2 separate regions of the Homo sapiens genome follow, and region 2 is linked to region 1. Evidence: promoter capture Hi-C in 16 types of primary human blood cells and fetal thymus (Javierre and others, 2016). All regions are on one chromosome and are shown on one strand. The core of a region is centred on a gene start or on the middle of the fragment in contact, and the rest is flanking DNA. Distances in the headings are between cores, read along the strand shown.

Region 1 (5,671 bases), core at 2,893-5,392:
CTCTTAGCCTGGGAAGCACAGAGGCCCCAGCCCTCTTCCATTTCCTGCTCCACAGTTGCAGGCTCTGTGGTCAGCTACGGGGTGACGAGAGTGGAGTCGGAGAAATGCAACAACCTCTGGCTCTTCCTGGAGACCGGGCAGCTCCCCAAAGACAGGAGCACAGGTGAGAGAGCCTGGGGGTTAGCGAGAAGTGAATGCCACCTCTCCAGCACCCAGAGTTTTGGGCAGCCAAGCCTGGGTGCACCATGCGATAGGCTAGACAAGGTCCCTCCCTCTGGCCCGGCCTCCTCAGCATGTGACTGCCAGATGGGTTGGAGCTGGGGGTGGGCGCAGTAGACAGATCTTGGAGAGCTCCCTTTGAGGAGAAAGAACCAAGAGGGGCTGGGGTGCCCCTGAGATTGAGAGGAAGGGTGCAGAGTGAAGGGTGTGGCAAGGCCACAGCAGCCACGTGGGCACCCGAGAGGAGTGAGGCTGGACTGAGAAGCCCCGCATTGGACCCAGGCCTGGCCTCCACTGCCCGTTGTCCTTGTTACGGAACCCAGTTTCTGCCATGATAAAATGGGCACAGGGATGCCCAGCCACGATGGATGTGGTTCGAGCTTGTCTCTCTTTGCCTTTTACAGATCAGAGAAGCTAGGAGAGCTCCAGCAGGGGCACAGAGGATTGGGGGCAGGAGGAGTCTGGAACACAGCCTTCATGCCCCCTGACCCCAGGCCGACCCTCCCCACACCCTAGGGTACCCCAGTCGTATCCTCTGTCCGCATGTGTGGCCAGGCCTGACAAACACCTGCAGATGGCTGCTGCCCCAACCTGGGACCTGCCCAGGAGGTTGGAGCAGAAAGGGCTCTCCCTGGGGTGGTGTTTCTCCTCTAGGGTATTGGGATGCATGTTCTGCACTGCCAGCAGAGAGGGTGTGTCTGGGGGCCACCACCTATGGGACACGGGGTCGAAGGGGCCTGTACACTCTGTCATTTCCTTTCTAGCCCCTGCATCTCCAACAAGTCCAAGGTGACAGCTGGTGCTAGGGGCGTGGGGTTAATAAATGGCTTATCCTTCTCTCCACCCAAGTTTCCACCTGACCAGGTGAAAAACAAATCAGAAGGGTAAGATGATGACAGGTCACATGAAACCTTTATTACCCTACAGTTGATATATGAGGATCACATGCAAGTTACATACTGAGGATGTACAGGGAAGTTCCCAGCGCTGAACCCCAGAATTAGACGTTCGCATCAGCCCCGTAGGCCACGTGACACCACCACAGCCTCTCTGTATGGGGGTCTGCCTCTGTAGCACTTGGCATGTAGGGGCAGAGCAAAAGGGGCCAGGCTGGCCAGAGCCTGGCTGCTGGGAGAGGAGGGACTTGTGGGCCACGCCCACCTGCCTATCATTCCCCACTCATCTATTAGCCAAAGTCACTCCCCAGAGGCAGAGCTAGCCCGTTGTAGCCGTGTCTGTGTGGAGGGAAAGCTTCTGAGTGGGCAAGCCTACACACAGCCCCGAGCCCCAAGAGGAGGAAGAGGTGGAGACCAGACGGAACCTCCACAAGTCCATCATGGTTACAGCTGGCTTCCCCGCAGCACCGAAGACCCACAGCATGGGCCCTGCTGCCCCCGACCCAGCTCAGCTGCCACGCCTCACCTTGCCAGGCACTGGAAAGAAAGTTTATTGAGTACCTACTGGGCCTTCAGAGTGACAGGAAGCTCAAGTTGACAGTGGCTTCAGCAAGATGGAGCTTTATTTTTCTGTTTTTTGTGGTGTTGTCGTCGTTGTTTGGAGACAGAGTCTCGCTCTGTCACCCAGGCTGGAGGGCAATGGCGTGATGTCGGCTCACTGCAACTTCCACCTCACCAGTTCAAGCCATTCTCCTGCCTCAGCCTCCCAAGTAGCTGGGATTATAGGCACCCACCACCACGCCTGGCTAATATTTATTTATTTATTTATTTTGAGATGGAGTTTCACTCTTGTTGCCCAGGCTGGAGTGCAGTGGTGCAGTCTCAGCTCGCCACAACCTCTGCTGCCCGGGTTCAAGCGATTCTCCTGCCTCAGCCTCCCGAGTAGCTGGGATTACAGGTATGCGCCACCATGCCCAGCTAATTCTGTATTTTTAGTAGAGACGGGGTTTCACTATGTTGGCCAGGCTGGTCTCAAACTCCTGACCTCATGTGATCTGCCCACCTCGGCCTCCCAAAGTGCTGGGATTATAGGCGTGAGCCGCTGGGCACCGCGCCGGGCTGAGCTTTATTTTTCTTTCATGTAAAAGTCCAAGTGAGTGGTCCAGGGTTGACAGGGAATCGGGGACCAGGCTCCTTTCAGTCTGCTCCCTGCTGTAATGGTCTCTGTTCCCAAATCTGCCTCATGGCCCCAGGCGGCTGCACCAGCTTCGGCCATTGTGTCTTTATCTCATTTAAGAGGCAGGAGAGAGGGCAGCTTGCCTGCCACTGCTGCTCTCACTCTGTTGGCCTGAACGAAGTCATCAGGCACATCCAGTGCCAGGATGCTCAGGAAGGCAGAGTTGCTCTGGGCAGCCATGCGCCCACTAAAATTCAGGTGTTTTATATCTGAGGAAGAAGGACAGCAGGTAGGCTCTGCCTCAGCTAGATTCCAAGCCTGGCCCCCAAGAACGAGGGGGAGGTAAGCAGACCACACCCTTAGCAGGACATCCCAGCACCCTGAGGGTGAGGCCTGGGTGGGAGGGAGAGAAGGGAGAACCTGGAGTTTGCCTGGACTGGCTTTCCAAAAACAGTGACCAGAAAGGGAAGGGATCTATGTGACAGCACATGGGCAAAGGCCATTGTCGGGCTGGCTTGGGTCCCCCCAAATTTCTGTCCCCCAGGACCTCTGCATGTCTCTGTATTTGAAGACAGGGGCTTTCCAGAGGTCATTAAGGTAAAATGAGGTCATTGGGGTGTCCTCATAAGAAGAGGAAATTAGGACACAGACACACAGAGGGACGGCCACGTGAGGACACAGAGAAGACAGCATCTGCAAGCCAAGGAGAGGGGCCTCAGGAGACACCAGCCCTGCTGACCCGTGATCTCAGCCCCCAGCCTCCAGGCTGCTGTTCACATCCCCCAGTCGGTGGCGCCTTGTTTTTTTGTTTTTTTGTTTTTTGTTTTTTTGAGATGGAGTCTTACTCTGTCACGCAGGCTGGAGTGCAGTGACGCGATCTCAGCTCACTGCAACCTCCACCTCCTGGATTCAAGCAATTCTCCTGCCTCGGCTTCCCAAGTAGCTGGGACAGGCGCCCACCACCACACTGGGCTAATTTTTGTATTTTTAGTAGAAACGGGGTTTCACCATGTTGACCAGACTGGTCTTGAACTCCTGACCTCAGGTGACCCACCCACCTCAGCCTCCCAAAGTGCTGGGATTACAGGCGTGAGCCTCCACACCTGGCCAGTGGCACCTTGTTATGGCCGCCTGAGCCTACTAAGGCAAGGCTGGGAAAAAGTACCCCATCTCGTGTGTACCCCATCTCGTGCATACCCCACAGAGTTCCAGGCTGCCTGGTGCTCCAGGTACTCCCCTCTAAGGGAAGGGTGGAGGGGGTGCAGAGATGGAGAACATACCCTTTCTGGAGTGACACATGAACCCAAGACCCAGTAATTCCCAAAGGAAAGTGGGGGTGAAGCAGGGTGGGCTCCAGACAGCACAGAGAGGTCAGGGACAGAAGTCAGAAGAGATAAGGTGGGGGTGTCCCAAGAGCCAGGTTACCCAGTGCATGGAGTTTGGACTTGGGGCTGGGGGTGGGGGGTGCAGAGGGAGGTCCCGTAAGGCAGTATCAGAATAGTATCAGAATCGTTTTAGGAGGCTCGGCCTGCTGCTTTGTGGAGGATGGCTTGGGGCATGGGAGGGGCCAGGGAGGGAACCCAGTGCAGGTGTGAGCTGCCGGTGCTGCAGACCCATCACAAACCTCCCCCTCAAAGAAAGCACATCCGCCCGGCAGAGCTCCTAAGCCTCGAGCAGCTGCCAGGAGACTCATTTCAATTAGGACACATGTCTGGAGGCCACCCCAAGGTGGCTGGGGGCAGAGTGAGGCAGGAGGCCCTGCAATTCCAGGGTTGCCCAGGCACTGAGAATCCTGGCTCTCATCATAATGGGCTGAGGTTCTGGGGACAATCTGAGTGGCGGCTCTGAGCAAGCTGAGCCCAGGGAGGCTTTGAGGTACACAGGGTCCCTTGGGGGGCCTGAGAGCAGCCATGAGGAGGCACAGTGAGACAGATGTGGAAGAGCAGACCCAGGAGCTGAAGACCATCACTCAGCTCCAGGGTGAGCCTGCACCGCCGTGACCAGTCTCCCTTTCCCGTCTGGGGGTTTCTGGGTGCACAACTTTTTGTGGGGAAAAGAGAGATCAGATTGTTACTGTCTATGTAGAAAAGGAAGACATAAGAAACTCCATTTTGATCTGTACTAAGAAAAATTGTTTCTGCTTTGAGATGCTATTAACCTGTAACTTTAGCCCCAACTCTGTGCTCACAGAAACATGTGCTGTATTGAATCAAAGATTAATGCATTTAGGGCCGTGCAGGATGTGCTTTGTTAACAATGTGTTTGCAGGCAGTATGCTTGGTAAAAGTCATCCCCATCCTCCATTCTTGATTAACCAGGGACACAGTGCACTGCAGAAAGCCGCAGGGACCTCTGCCCAGGAAAGCCTGGGAATTGTCCAAGGTTTCCCCCCACTGAGACAGCCTGAGATATGGCCTCGTGGGAAAGGAAAGATCTTACCATCCCCCAGCCCGACACCAGTAAAGGGTCTGTGCTGAGGAGTAGTGAAAGAGGGAGGCCTCTTTGCAGTTGAGATAAGAGGAAGGCATCTGTCTCCTGCTCGTCCCTGGGAATGGAATGTCTCAGTGTAAAGCCGACCATTCCCATTCGTTCTATTCTAAGATAGGAGAAAACCGCTCTGTGGCTAGAGGCAAGATATGCTGGCAGCAATACTGCTCTGTTACTCTTTGCTACACTGAGATGTTTGTGTAACGTGAAACAAATCTGGCCTACGTGCACATCTGGGCATAGTACCTTTCCTTGAACTTATTCATGATAAAGATTCCTTTGCTCACATGTTTCCCTGCTGACGTTCTCACCACCTGTTGCCCTGCTACACTCCCCTCACCAAGATAGTAAAAATAATGATCAGTAAATACTGAGGGAACTCAGAGACCAGGGCTGGTGCAGGTCCTCGCATGCTGAGTGTGCCAGTCCCCTGGGCCCACTGTTCTTTCTCTATACTTTGTGTCTTTTTTTTTTTTTTTTATGAGATGGAGTCTTGCTCTGTTGCCCAGACGGCAGTGCAGTGGCGCGATCTCGGCTCACTGCAAGCTCCACCTCCTGGGTTCACGTCATTCTCCTGCCTCAGCCTCCCAAGTAGCTGGGACTACAGGCACCCACCACCATGCCCGGCTAATTTTTTGTATTTTTAGTAGAGATGCGGTTTCACCGTGTTAGCCAGGATGGTCTCGATCACCTGACCTCGTGATCTGCCCGCATCAGCCTCCCAAAGTGCTGGGATTACAGGCGTGAGCCACCATGCCCAGCCTCTGTGTCTTATTTCTTTTCTCAGTCTTCATCCCACCTGACGAGAAATACCCGCAGGTGTGGAGGGGCAGGCCCCCTTCACTTTTAGGGGATGTTTGTTTGGAGACAGAGTCTCGCTCTGTCACGCAGG
Region 2 (5,587 bases), core at 1,679-4,178, 180 kb after region 1:
TGGGTACCTCTGAAAGGTGGGGTGTAGAGGCTGCCCCTCCCCAGTCCCAGGCTGGGGGAGTTGATCCCAGGCTGCAGGTGGGTGGGGCTCACGAGGTCCCCATGAGTTTATTTGAGGCTGGTGGACACTCAGTCGAGCTCAGCTCCCACCAGTCACTGGGACAGCCTCGGCCCTCAAGGGCAAACCATTGGTGGGGATGCTGGACAGGGTCATCACTGCCCCCGGAGGATGCTGGCCGGGGCCCCAGGGTGGAGACAGCTTCCCTCCAGGAAAAGGTTGGGGTCAGTTCTGGGAGCTTAGGCCCAGGCCACCAGGCTTGTCCATGACCTGCCTGGGCCGCAGGCAGGGGGATGGCCTTGGTGACCTCTTAGGGTGGAGGCCAAGTCTTTGCATTTTGTGACTCAAAGAGACTGGTTCCCAGAGAGCAGGGTGGGGCGGCCAGCCTTCTTCCTGCCCAGCCCTCCGCCAGGCTCCACTAAGGTCCTGCCTGGCAGCCAAGCTCAGAGCAAAGGGAAGGGCACAGAGAGTGTGCAGGGTGGTCCTTGTCCCTGCCCAAGCTGCAAGAGGCTCTGCGAAGGTCCCTCCTGCCCCTGTCCACCTTGCACAGTCCTAGCCGGGGGAGGAGGGGAGAAATCTGGCGTGCCAGGAGCTGGCAACTGCCCAGCCCTTCCTGGATGTGGTGAGAGATGAATCTCCAGCCCTCGGGTGGGCCCAGGTGCACCCATGAATCAGGGCTCGTGGGCAGCTCCCACTCACTGGTCCTCACTCAGCCGTGTCTGGGGAGTGTCTCTGACCACCTGCTGGCCATCTTGACCACAGGGACTGAGGAGTCCGTCCTGAACCGAAGCATGATCCTGTTAGCTCTTCCAGCTCTCCAGGCGCCAACGACCATATGGTCTCGGTAACGACTGGTCAGGGAGGAGAAGGGACATGGGACCTGCTGGGCTTTCTGCAGCCCACTAGAAAATGGGGAAGAGGAGGGGCTTGGTCCCTGTTCCAGGCACTGGGTTTGAGGGCTGGACACCCGAGATCCCTGGGAACCCCTCTGGCTATGGGAGGACCCGGCCCCATCAGACTTCAGAGTCCCTCCCTGGCAGGTGACCCAGGCCTGCCCAGACGGAAGCCATTCAGACCCAGAGCCACGTGTCCTGGGTCTCCCTGCCCCGGGCCACCCGCCACCACACCCCAGAGCTTGCTCACCACCGGGAGGCGCTCTTGTCCTGGACCAGCCTAGCCTGGGTTGGGACCTCCAGCCAGGCCAGTCAGCGAGCCACCAGCCCCACCAGAGTGGAATGACAGCCAGGACTCAGCTGGCAGCGGGCAGGAGGCCAGTCTTGTGGTGATATCCCAGCCGCAACTCTCTTCCTGCCCCTCCCCTGTCCTGACGGCAGCCCCCAGCTCTGTAGCTGAGCCAGGCTTGCGGGCCACGCGGGGTCCCGGGTTTAGGCACCCCACCCCTATCTGTTCCAACAGACTCTCCCTCTCAGCCCATGGCACAGATGGCATCTGAGCTAGCAGCACGCTGCTGCTTCAGGCAGGGGTTGATAGGAGGTCCAGGTGGAGGAGTGGGTTCTCAGGACTGCCTTGGCCCCCCTGCACCGCTGCCCTCCTTCTCCCTGCCTCTCAGGTGCCTCCCGGCTCCCTGGGACTCACTCCCTCACCTTGGCCTCTGCCTGGGATGCTACCCGGCCACCCCCACCAGCCCTGACACCAGTGCTGCCCACTAGCCCCTGCTGCTACATAGGCATGCGCCTCCCCCAGTCTGGGCTCCTTGACCCCCGGGCACTGGGGAAGGGGAACAAGGAAGCAGTCCACACCAGCCCACTCCCAGGGCTCGTGCGCCCCCAGCAAGGGATGGGCCACAGAATCCAGGAAGAAGACGGGCTCCGGCCCCCAGTGGTCGCCAGCAGCCCCGTAGAAGCTCACCACCCCACCCCATCCGACTCACTCCTGCTCTCATGTACATTTCCCAGCTCCCCACCCGGGCTCACCTTCAGACCAGCGGCAGCGCTCACCCACCACGCCTGCCAGGGAAGCTCAGTCCCAACAGAATCCAGAGAGGGCCCACCACATGTGCCTGCCTGTGACGGCCTGTGACAGGGCCCCAGCCAGGGCCAACGAGCTGGAGGGGCCCAAGGAGCTGGGTGCAGCGCTGGGGTAACAGGACAGCCCCACGGGGTGCTCCCGAGTCTGGACCAGACTCGGGGTGGGGAGGCCCAGACTCGGCGGGGGGCAGACTTGGGGTGGGGGGATTGCTGGGGGAAGTTGGGGCCTCTGGCAAGGGATAGGGCCTGTGCTCAAGCCCAAAGGTGCCCCAGGCTGAAATGGGCACCCAGGGGTCACTATCAGAGCCCCAACAGCTGGCCATGGGGGAAGCCATGCCCAGCAAACCTGGCCCTCGGGACCCTGCGGGCCAGATCAAGTTTCTCTACCTTGGCCTGAGCTTCTCATCAACACTTCACTTGCTGGGCGTTTCAGGACCAAACTCTCAGGGTGGAAGTGGGGCTTGTGTCCCCTTCTGGGGTGGCAGGGCTCGGAAAGGGAATGATGGTAGGGGCTGTGAGATGTGGGTCCTGGCCCCCAGTGGGAAGTCACCAGAGGCCTCGGAGGCGGGCATGGCTGAGGAACACAGCCCCTGCCCTATCAGGGCCGCTGGGTTGGTGGGCCCTGCCAGCAGGAGGAGGGTGGGCAAGGTCCCTGCCAGCTCTGTCTCTGGGACCAGTGGGCAGGGGCCTCTGCCTCACCCCCACGCTGCCTCAGCTGGGGCAGCAGGCCCAGGCCTCTTGCATAAGCGCCCTGTGGGGGACGAGGCTGCAGCTGTGCCTGGCCACCCCATCCCCCAGCATCACGAGTGTTCAGTGGGCTGTCCCCGGGCCCTGGGTGGAGGCCAAGCCTGGCCCATAAATAGGGGTCTCCTCAGTGCCCTCCGCTCCTCCTGCACACCTCCCTCGCTCTCCCACACCACTGGCACCAGGCCCCGGACACCCGCTCTGCTGCAGGAGAATGGCTACTCATCACACACTGTGGATGGGACTGGCCCTGCTGGGGGTGCTGGGCGACCTGCAGGCAGCACCGGAGGCCCAGGTCTCCGTGCAGCCCAACTTCCAGCAGGACAAGGTGAGGGGCTTTCCTGCGTCATCCCCAAGGGCTACAGGACCCTGTCAGGGGAAGGGCACTTTCCGGCTGGGTCTTCCCCCTGGGAGGAGTGAGCGAAGTCCCGCAGTGCCGGGCAGTGCCGGCCAGGGACTGAGCGGGCGCGCAGGAAGGAGGCTGGGTAGCCGCCCGAGGAGGCTGCCCGCGAGAAGCCCTCCCTGGGCACCGCGTCCCGTCTCCCCTGATGGGCCACGCAGACACCGGGCCACACACGCGCCCACGCCAGCCAGACACGTCCACCCCTGTGGGCACGCGACCCCCAGAGGACACACGAGCGCACGTTCCACACCTGGGTGCCAGGACACGGGCGGGTGGGGCACAGGGATGGCGACAAACACTCCGTGCGCGGTGGGGGTTGGGAGGGACGCGCACCGCACAGACAGCCGGCGACGCGCGCTCTCGCCCGGGAGCTGCTCGGGGAAGCGCCGGAGCGCGGGTCCCCGCGCCGCGCGCCCCTCCCTGGCGTCGAGGAGAACCCCAGCGGTCCGCAGAGCTGAGCCGAAGACCCGCCCCGATCCCCGCCAGGAATGCGACGTCCTCTGCCGCCCGCTGTATGGGCCAGGCGCTCAGCCAGGGCACAGAATCGGGACCGGGGGCGGAGGGGCCGAAGCTGGCTGGTGGGCGGCGTGCGAGGGTGAGGGACTGTCCTCGGGAGGGGCGTGGCCAGACGGGGGTGCTGGGTGTCAGGGGCGTGGCCAGCTTCTGGGGCTGAGGCGTGAGGGGCGGGGCCATCTCCGGGGGAGGGGGAAGTGGGGCGTGGTCATCTCCTGGGGCGGGGCGTGAGGGGCGGGGCCACCTCCCGGGGCGGGGCGGGGGCCTGATGGGCGTGGTCAGCTCCTGGGGCGGGGACGTGAGGGGCGGGGTCAGCTCCTAGGGGGGCATGGGGCGTGAGGGGCGCGGTCAGTTCCCTGGTTGTGGACATGAAGGGCGGGGCCAGCTCTTGGGGCGGGGTCGTGAGGGGCGTGGTCAGCTCCTGGGGCGGGGATGTGAGGGGCGGGGTCATCTCCTGGGGCGGGGATGTGAGGGGCGTGGTCAGCTCCTGGGGCGGAGATGTGAGGGGCGGGGTCATCTCCTGGGGCGGGGATTGAGGGGCGGGGGTCAGTTCCTGGGGCGGGGCGTGAGGGGCGTGGCTGCTCGGGGGATTGGGCGTGGGGGCGGGGCCGGGTTGGAGACCGGAGGAGTAGACGGCAGAGGCGCCCCCGCAGGTAGGCGCAGGTGGGTCCGGAGGGTCCTGGCCGACGCGGGTGGGGGTCGCTCGCCGCAGTTCCTGGGGCGCTGGTTCAGCGCGGGCCTCGCCTCCAACTCGAGCTGGCTCCGGGAGAAGAAGGCGGCGTTGTCCATGTGCAAGTCTGTGGTGGCCCCTGCCACGGATGGTGGCCTCAACCTGACCTCCACCTTCCTCAGGTGGGACAGCGGGCAGGTGGGTTTCTGGGACGGAGAGGTCCAGGGACACCCTCGGGCCTAACCCCTGACCCTGAGGTCACCCACCTACAGGAAAAACCAGTGTGAGACCCGAACCATGCTGCTGCAGCCCGCGGGGTCCCTCGGCTCCTACAGCTACCGGAGTCCCCGTGAGTGGGGCCTCCACCGGCCCCCTGGGCCCAGCCTGGGGGCGACACTTGCCGGGACGACTCTGGGCCAGCCCCCTGCCGCGGAGATCCATGGGGTGGGAGGTGATGGCTGCCCCACCAGCGTCAGAGGCAAAGGCCAGGCCTGGGCGTGACTACCCATGCACAAGTGTTAGGGACAGAGAGACCCTTCCTCCAGGGGGTTGGATCCTCTCTGGAGCCCACCATTGTCTTGTCAGGCCCCTTCCCTGCCCTCTGGAGTTTTCCCCACATAAGCAGCCCCCCAAGGCCCCTCCATATGCCTCCTCCCAATTCTCCTCCCCAGGACCCAGGGGTTTCCTCACTCCCACCTGGGGAATGGCTCCCACGGGGAAACCTCTTCACTTCCGGTTCTGGCAGCGACTTCTGCGGCTGCACCAGGAATCCTGGTTTTCTGAGCCTGGCTCCCCCAGATTCTGGTTTGGGGACAGGGTTCACAGGCTGTGCAGGCGAGAGCAGGGCACTGGCTGGAGAGCAGCCGGGTGGGGGAGCATCCCGGGCCAGCCGAGGGGCTGAGTGCCCCCAAAGCCCACAGGTGCACCCCTTCCCTGAAGCAGAGGTGAGGTTTGGGGGGCTGAGTCCCCGACAGGGTTGTCTCTTGGGTTCCCAGACTGGGGCAGCACCTACTCCGTGTCAGTGGTGGAGACCGACTACGACCAGTACGCGCTGCTGTACAGCCAGGGCAGCAAGGGCCCTGGCGAGGACTTCCGCATGGCCACCCTCTACAGTACGTGCCCCGTGGACGCCGCCCACACGCAGGCCTGACCAGAGGGGGCTCCCCAAGACCCAGGGCAGGGCACACAGCATCCCCCCCGCTGAGGCCAGCT

What was found. Contacts are between HindIII fragments. The CHiCAGO score rates a contact against its expected background, and 5 or more counts as called.
Region 2: a contact is called between the fragment with the promoter of PTGDS here and the fragment with the promoter of CCDC183 in region 1, in 2 of 17 cell types (activated CD4 T cells and endothelial precursors). The highest score is 6.1, in activated CD4 T cells.

The regions. Positions count from the first base shown.
Region 1 is chr9:136,792,196-136,797,866 of GRCh38, forward strand. CCDC183 (coiled-coil domain containing 183) reads left to right here and starts at 4,143. Exons shown (of 14, transcript NM_001039374.5): 1 at 4,143-4,272. The coding sequence starts at 4,203. TMEM141 (transmembrane protein 141) reads left to right here. Exons shown (of 5, transcript NM_032928.4): 4 at 56-163; 5 at 624-1,122. The coding sequence ends at 637. RefSeq lists an enhancer at 3,564-4,065 and a silencer at 4,782-5,076. The HindIII fragment of the contact is 12,043 bases long and covers 1,469-5,671 here.
Region 2 is chr9:136,974,576-136,980,162 of GRCh38, forward strand. It overlaps PTGDS (prostaglandin D2 synthase), which reads left to right and starts at 2,929. Exons shown (of 7, transcript NM_000954.6): 1 at 2,929-3,117; 2 at 4,418-4,557; 3 at 4,648-4,724; 4 at 5,371-5,487. The coding sequence starts at 3,004. It also overlaps LOC124902312. RefSeq lists an enhancer at 3,989-4,968. The HindIII fragment of the contact is 17,671 bases long and covers 1-5,587 here.